Regions from separate parts of the Homo sapiens genome. Here all the other regions are linked to region 1. The links are contacts of gene promoters, found by promoter capture Hi-C in blood cells and fetal thymus (Javierre and others, 2016). All regions are on one chromosome and are shown on one strand. Each heading gives the region's core, a stretch centred on a gene start or on the middle of the fragment in contact. The rest is flanking DNA. Distances are from core to core; before and after follow the strand shown.

Region 1 (2,700 bases), core at 54-2,553:
AATGCTCTATGCTCTGATTTTTGCGTCTGTTATTCAAATCGCTGCTAAAATATCTCCTCCTTAAAAGGGCATCCCCTTTACTAGCCACTCAGTCACCATCACCATCACGTCACTTATTGTAACTTCTTTGCATACAGCTTAAAACCAACAGATTTTTTTTCTTTTCACCCTCAGATAAGTTCCCTAGAATCTACACTACTTGTCTTCATCATTGTTCAATCAACAGCCTAGAGTAGTGTTTGTTGAATGAAGAAATGAACAAACGAATGCACCCTTTCTTCCGTGACCCTCTCCTCTGAACAGGGCAAAACTTAACTCATAACGAGGATACACTCAAAAATGTCTTTCTTATTGCCAGGTGTTTCCACTCTTGAGGAACAGATGCCCTTTAGGAGACAGGGCAATTTGACTGGACTGGCCCTTCCGATTTTAGGTGAAAATAATCACCATAACAGCTTTTCATCTCTGGCTAGGCTTCCCAGTGACCAAAGCTTTACTTTCCGATTTCCATACCACGTAAAGACATCAGGGTGAGCACTAGGGCCCTGAGAACCCTGGAAGCTACTTCTTGGCTGGGATAGGGCTGGTTGCCCGGTGCGCTGTGAGTGGTCCTCCCCGGAGATGCTGGGAGAAGGGGCGGAGCCATCAGAAAGGATGAGCCTTCCTTGGGCCTTCGGATCTGGTGGGGCTGCCACTTTGGGAAGGGCCCCGGGCTTCGGAAGAAAGCAAAACTAGCCTTGTGGCGAAGAAGGAGCCCAGCTGGCCCCAGGCTGTTAAGACTAAGGGGTCGAGGGAAAAGAGGCAGAGCCTGAAACCAAATCTGCGGAGCAAGCCAAGGCCTGGGGACTTGCCAGAGGGAAGGGTTAAGCCGTTTCCAAGGCAACGGACCAGGAAGCGCGCAAGACGTCCGCCGCAGGTTCGTAGGTCGCCCTCGAATTTAAAGCTCCCAAGGCTGAGTGGGTCCCGGCCAATGGAGAGGCCCCCTTTAAGTCATGTGACCAGCGGGGCTGCCCCGCGGGCTGCTCCGCGGGCTGCACTGGAGCACGTGGGAAGGCTTTTTTTCCTGTTCCTTCTTTCCCTTTTTAAACGCCCACCCACTTTTGCGCGGGCTCGGCCGCGGAATTTTTCTCGCGAGAGGCGCGCTGCCCTCTCGCGAGAGAGAGTGGGAGGCGTGGAGAGTAGGCGGTGTTGCGGGCCGGAGCTGCGGCGGCGGCGGCGGCGGCGGAAGCCGAGGGGTGGGCAGGGCGGGGGCGGGCCGCGGGGCTGGGAGGGGGAGGGCTGGGGGTCAGCGCGGGAGGGGGCCAGCTTGCTTGCCCGGCTCGCTCACGGGTCGTTGAGGCCGGTGACATGTCTGTGAGCTGCGGAGGCTGCGGCCCCCAGGTGAGCCGGGCGCCGACGTGCTCGCCGCGGAGGCTGCGTTTAGATGGGGTGGCGGCGGGTGTGCGGCCGGCATGGATGGAGCGGCCCGGCTCCGGCGCTCCAGCCCCTCCGCCTGCCGCTGGTCCCCCTTCTGGCTTCGGGGCCGCCCGAGAGCTGCGCCTTCGCATGGCGGAGGGAGGAGGGCGGGAGGAGCGCGGCCGAAGGAGGAAACTCACCGCACCGGGCCCAGAGTAGAGGGAGGTGCTGGGTCTCGAGACGCGTCTTCCTGGGGTCCCAAGTGTGGCGGTGGAGCTGCCGCCCCTTTTAATGACAGGCTGTTTCCATCCCCGGGGTGGTCTTCAGAGACGGCCCCCCGGGTGCGTGGTGCGCGTGCTTAGTGTGTGTTCGTGGTGTGCGCACAGGAACATTTGCAGCGGTTGGGAGGACGTTGCACTTTGTTCCCGAACAGCATCCTTCACTGTCAGACCCCCGGAGCCTTGGAAGCAGGCGCTGCTCAGATCTTGTAAACGGAAGGCGTCAAGGGGCTCCTCAGAGTATTGATATTTGGATTTGCTGTCAAATACTCTCCTAGGCTGTTAATGGCTTAAGGCTGGCCATAAAGTACCCCGAATGGATTGAGTATACTGCTGTTAATCCAGGCATCTAAGCTGCTTTATAAAAAATATGTAGATGTAACCGAAGTATTAAAAAGTGACAATGACAGTAAAAGCTAACATTTTTTCTCTTCCCCATATTACCAGCTTTCATTTTTTTTCTCTGCTTTGTCTGTCTTCTAAAACCATATAAAGTTGGATGTGGTTTAGCTTTAGATGTTAAGGAGTTTCATGGTGAGAAAGACTGCTGAGATACATACCTAATAGCTTTAGTACAAACTGGAGTTAATTCCTGTTCTCTTTTCAGCTTTTCAATCGCTTGCAAAATGCTCGTTTTGCTTAGCTGCTTCCCACTGTTTTAGAAATGTCATGTCGATTGTTATTTTGTTATGTCTGAAAATACTCAAAATATGGAGTACTAAGAAAAAATGGGGTATCAGTAATGCACAGATATATTTTTTTTAATGTCATCATTTTAGGATGGCAGCCCAGTGCCTGGCATGATTGGTGTCAGTTAAAATAGTGCAATTGAATGATTTTTTTTTTTTTTGAAAAACACATTTACTTTTTCAAACGGTACCCTGATTATTCATTTTTTCTTGTCGTTGTTCCTCCTGACAAAACTGACCCAGGGGTGGACAGTGAATGTCACTATTGTAGCTGTAACAGTAATTTATGAAAGGTCAAAGAATGTAAGGAAATCAGGGAAGAAGTGGGTTCCCAAGCT
Region 2 (2,712 bases), core at 176-2,675, 5.2 Mb before region 1:
CTGAAACTTTAAAAAATGGACTAACCTCCTAATACAACACAAACACAAGCACCATACAACTGTAAATGATTTACGATCATTTACAATGAGTAAGATATTACTCCTACCCTTGAAAAGCTCGTAGGAGGTTTAAGTTGAATTTAGGTGAACGTGAAAATTTTCTGACCACTGAATTTGAAGATGAAGATACACTATGTACTTTTCGGACAAAATGTGATGACTTTAAGATTTCTTGTCACTAAATTGGGGATGGGGGCTTACTAACTTTAAATTATTTAAGTACTTCAGACAAAAACTAATAACTTCATATCTCTCACAAAGCAAACATTCTGTCTATACACAGAATTTACTAGAACCTGTGAGGAAACTGTAATCATTATCATTTCCGTTTTACAGAATAAGGCAATCAGAACAACTGACTTTCCTAACATCACAGACCTAGATCAGAATTCAGAACTCTGTGTCCAATCTTAGGTCCCTTCCAATATTACAACCTGCAAACTAATCAAACCGGCATCTGTTTTTACATTTCTTTAAAAAAAGCAAAGCAATTAAAAAAAGGACCCAATTCTGCTCAGAGACGAATATGTATTTCTTAATTTGGATCTAACTTTATAACATGGTGATCAACCCAAGTACACTGTACTCGACTCCGAAAATCCTGCTCGTCACTTTATATTTTGAGTCCTACTAGAGACTTTGATGAATTGCACTCAAGAAGACGCGGCCCCCACTACGCAGTGGCTACGGGAGATGGCTTCCAGGGCAACTGTTCTCCAAGTTCATTTCTGAGCGCCGGGTAACCATGGCCAGTAATTAATCCAATTCTAAGCGTTGCTATCAATTCTACGCGTTGCTATCAATTCTACTGATTTCCCTGATCGACCAGAGTCTTCCCATTGCAGGAGCTTTTGTCACAACTTAGGCTTTACCTGTACAACCGTCATCTCCACAGAGGAGCGACAAGCCTTTATGCAATATGGACACCAAGAAAACCGCCTTCGAAGACACGCAAGGCAAAATTCTTGCCAGTGTCCGGAAATACCCGTCTCTGGAACCCAAAAGTCAAACTAAAATTAAAAGTTCGGCTTAGCAACACCGCGAAAGGCGATGTAGGCGTCCACCTGGAGTTTAGCTGCCTCAACCTCCGCCCCGGCCTGCCGGGTCTCTGGGGACCCCGTCTTCCTCCAGCGGGCTCTGGGATGCGGCCCGCTCACCTCTGACCCTGGCCGGATCTCGCGCGTCTAAGCCACCGCGTTGCCAGTCGCTGGCCACCCACCTACCGCCACCGCCCACCTGTGCGGGTCGCCTCGCCGCTAGGCCCCAAGACGGCGCCGCCTGCTCGGCAGCAAAGCCCACCCGCCCCGTCGGCGGCTCAGTGCTGCACCCCCACCAACAGCCAGTTCCGGCGGCCGCACTTCCGATTGGCAGGCTGGGCCGAGGGGCGGGGAAGGCGGGCGGAAGGGGAGGAGCCGGGAGGGCGGGGCCGCTGCCAGGAGCCTGGAGCGCTGCGTTCCGCGCAGGACGCCGGTGAGGCCCGCAGAGACTTGCGTCCGGGCGGGAGGCGGGGCCCAGGATCTCTGCTCAATCCTGGAGTCCGAGTCCGCAAAGTGGGAGGGAGGGTGTAGATGTGAATTTGGGGAAAAACGACCCTGTTGAATTTCTAGAGTGGAAGAAACATAGAACTAGCTTTTCTCTTTGCTTAGCACATACAAATGGAAAAACAGCGACACCGTTACCTACATTTACTAGTCCAATGCGTACAACCTTCTGTAGTATATCAACTGCCAATGAGTTTATGTTTTTAAAAAAACCACCCCAGAGAAGGGTTCTAAAAATTCAGAAACCGCATTACTAGCACACATTGTAAGGTCTGTTTTGTTTTGTTTGTTCGTTTGTTTTTCAGACAGAGTCTCGCTCTGTCGCCCAGGCTGGAGTGGAGTGGAGAAATCTCAGCTAACTGCAACCTTTGCCTCCTGGGTTCAAGCGATTCTCCCTGCCTCAGTCTCCGGAGTAGCTGGGATTATAGGCGTGCACCACCACACCCGGCTAATTTTTGTATTTTTAGTAGAGACTGTTTCACTATGTTGGGCAGGCTGCTCTTGAACTCCTCATCTCAAGTGATCCACCCGCCTTGGCCTCCCAAAGTGCTGGGATTACAGGCGTGAGCCATCATGCACGGCCTGGGGTGAATCTTTTTAATGAGCATTTATTATTTGCCGTTCACAATGCCAAGGGTCATAATGAATGAAAGTGTCTTGGAATTAGAGTTAGTGGTTGCACACATTATAAGTGTATTAAAGTACACTCCAAAATAAAATCCGAACACATTAAGTGGTTACTCCCATTCCTCCCTCTCTCAGCCCCTGGCAAATGCCAATCAGCTTTCAAACTGTGGTACCTATTACGGATATTTCATATAAATGGAATGTGTGACCTTTTGGTCTGTCTTCGTAGCATAATCTTTTGCAGGTTCACCTTGTACACCTTGTTGCATGTATCGGTACTTCATGTCTCTTTATGGCTACTATTCCACTGTACCTAGATGCCACAGTTTTACCTGTCCATCCACTGATGGACATTTGGGTTGTTTCCACTTTCGGGCTATTGTGAATAGCAATGATATGAACATTTGTATACAAGTATTTGTTCGAGTCCCTGTTTTCAATTCTTTTGGGTATAAACATAGTGGAACTTCTGGGTCTTATAGTA
Region 3 (2,700 bases), core at 191-2,690, 5.3 Mb before region 1:
GTTTCACTAGTTGTGCAACATTTGAGTACACGAGCTCATTTCTCCAACATGTTTCCTCACCAGTAAAATAATGCTAATGATAACATATATGTCACAGTGTTAAAGATTTAATAACTCCTATTAAACCAAGTGCAACACAACATATAGTAAGTACTACAATCAATAAATGGTAGCTCTTATCACTTCAAGCTAGTGGGAACAAATACCGTCAGTACAATCCCATAAAATCTGTGCAAAAGACCCAAAGTAAGGCAGCTTCAATCTAAGAATGTGTGAATCCACTCCCCGCCCGCACCCCGCCAAAAATCAATCAATCAATCAATCAATCCTGGTTTGCTCAAAAACTTGAAAAAACAAAAAAGCCCTAAACCCTGAAATCTCTACTAGTTAGGGCAAGAGAGGACTCCTCTCTCACCCAGATACTATCAACAAAGAAGTAAGGATGCATTACATTTTATCTAAACTGTAAATTTATACAACCTCTGGAAAGATGGCAGAGTGGCCTTCCTGGCAGTGCTGTCTAGGTGGCTAATCTGAATGTCAAGGAAGCTGAAATCCTCTCCACTTACTAACTAGAGGGCAGGCTCATTCCAAGGTGTGCGGGAGAGAGTTCGCCAATTTTCTACCACTTAACAATCAGCAAGTGTTTACAATGTTTTTGTGTTTCGAGAGCAAGGGCAAAGACAATCGAGTTTGCATTCTATCGTCCTGCCTTGTTTAGGGGCAGTATATTTAGGGTGCTTAATTCTGGGACACAATGCGACCCCGGACAAGGCGCCTGAGGCCTGTCTCTCTCGCTCACCCTGCGTCCCTAGTGGGTCTCATCGATCCACGCATTTATTCCCATTTGTAACAGATGGCTGCCGTCAAGGCTCCGTCACCCCTATTTGCTTAACCACATCAGCCAAGGGAGCAGGCTAGGGAGCACACCCCTTCTGGGGGCTCGAGACCTCCCTGGGTGGAGCAGAACTGCAGCGGCTGCAGGTCCCGGAGAGTCTGGGAGAGGTCGAGGTTGACAGAGGAGGTGGGTAGGGGGCGCGGGCGCCAGGGGCGATGGAAGCGGCGATGATGCCAGGCCGGGTGGGTGCGCTCCAGTGTGAAAAAACTTACAAGTCTCTGAGCACACAAAGAGATAAGATTCCAAGGGAAAATTAAAGAACCGAAGAAAAGGAGAGTGAAACTCCAGGAAACTCCGAGGTCAGGAATTTGGGGGAATCTAGGGGAAAAGGGACTTCTCCGAGAACTGGTAGCGCGGAGGAGGGGACGCCTGAGGAGCCGCAGTCTCCAGGAGAGCGGTAAGCCCCGGCCTGCGCGGGTTCCCATCCCTGTTCTCACCAGTACGAGGGCTGCGGCCGCCAGCGCCGCGCCGAGCACCGCCAGCTGCAACAGAAGCGGAGCCATTCTCCATGCCGTGGCAGCCCGCCCAATCCCGCACCTCCACACAGGCGGAAGCGCGCCCGCGCGACCCGGCCCCGCCGCCAGAGAGGTCGCGCCCGCTGGCCGCAGCGCCCCCGCGTGGCGAGGCGGAGAAAACGCCGCTCTCGTGCCCTCGGCGCCCAGTCGGTGGAGAGGAGCGCTAGGTTCCACAGCGGGGCGCCAGGTTTATCAAGTATGCAAGACGTCTACTTAATTTGAATTTCAGATTAAAAAACTAATCATGTTTTTAACAGCCTTATTAAGATAGCCACATACCATACGACTCATCCAGTTACAGGTTTCTGGTTTATTACATTAGTTTTTATAAACTGTGGTAAAATAAAAAGTTGCCATTTTAATCATTTTAAGTTTACAATAGTGAGTGGCATTAATTACATACATACTGTGCAACCATCACCACTATCTATCTGTAAAGCCTTCCCAGCTCCCTCCAGGTTCTGGCAACAACTAATTGCATGCTCTATTTGGGGCATACTCATGCTTTAAAAAAAAAAAAACCCACAAAAAAACAAAAACAAAAAACAAAAAAACCACGCTGTGTTTATCAGACATTCAAATTTAACGTGGTATCCTGTATTTTATCTGGTAACCCCACCTAGGAGGGAGATGGCAGCCTTGAGCACGACACAGTCTACAACACAAGGTGATGCTTAGGAGCCCTCAGCTCCGGGACCTGCAGAGCAGAACGTGGTGCGGACAATGAGCGCACAGAAAGTTCAGGTTTCTCGGCCGAGCGCCGTGGCTCACGCCTGTAATCCCAGCACTTTGGGAGGACGAGGCGGGCGGATCACAAGGTCAGGAGATCGAGACCATCCTGGCTAACACGGTGAAACCCCGTCTGTACTAAAAATACAAAAAATTAGCGGGGCGCGGTGGCGGGCGTCTGTAGTTCCAGCTACTCGGGAGGCTGAGGCAGGAGAATGGCGTGAACCCGGGAGGCGGAGCTTGCAGTGAGCCGAGATCGCGCCACTGCACTCCAGCCTGGACGACAGAGCGAGACTCTGTCTCAAAAAAAAAAAAAAAAAAAGTTCAGGTTTCTCATGTGTTGGAGCACGGAGCCCTTGACCAGTGAAGAGGCAAGGCCAGGGCTGAGCCTAAGTCACAGGCAGAAAAAAGACGCAGAAACATTGGAATAACGCTCCACACGCACTGCTTGATTCTGCGCTAGAAACCCTGTTATCTCCGAACTGTTGGTGTTATTCTGAGTCACAGCACCAGCTCTTTTATAAAGAGGGAGACCCGCTCCTTCTTTAACAGCAGATT

Evidence for each region. Contacts are between HindIII fragments. The CHiCAGO score rates a contact against its expected background, and 5 or more counts as called.
Region 2: the fragment with the promoter of SUPT20H here is called in contact with the fragment with the promoter of AKAP11 in region 1 in 2 of 17 cell types (total B cells and total CD8 T cells); the score reaches 10.9 in total B cells.
Region 3: a contact is called between the fragment with the promoter of ALG5 here and the fragment with the promoter of AKAP11 in region 1, in 1 of 17 cell types (total CD8 T cells). The highest score is 7.3, in total CD8 T cells.

What each region holds. Positions count from the first base shown.
Region 1 is chr13:42,270,849-42,273,548 of GRCh38, forward strand. It overlaps AKAP11 (A-kinase anchoring protein 11), which reads left to right and starts at 1,304. Exons shown (of 13, transcript NM_016248.4): 1 at 1,304-1,380. RefSeq lists an enhancer at 494-673 and a silencer at 1,214-1,563. The HindIII fragment of the contact is 2,900 bases long and covers 490-2,700 here.
Region 2 is chr13:37,058,263-37,060,974 of GRCh38, forward strand. SUPT20H (SPT20 homolog, SAGA complex component) reads right to left here and starts at 1,426. Exons shown (of 26, transcript NM_001014286.3): 1 at 1,297-1,426. RefSeq lists a silencer at 1,338-1,597. The HindIII fragment of the contact is 8,647 bases long and covers 1-2,712 here.
Region 3 is chr13:36,997,900-37,000,599 of GRCh38, forward strand. It overlaps ALG5 (ALG5 dolichyl-phosphate beta-glucosyltransferase), which reads right to left and starts at 1,441. Exons shown (of 10, transcript NM_013338.5): 1 at 1,336-1,441. The coding sequence starts at 1,401. RefSeq lists a silencer at 1,357-1,656 and enhancers at 2,117-2,166, 2,627-2,700. The HindIII fragment of the contact is 11,758 bases long and covers 1-2,700 here.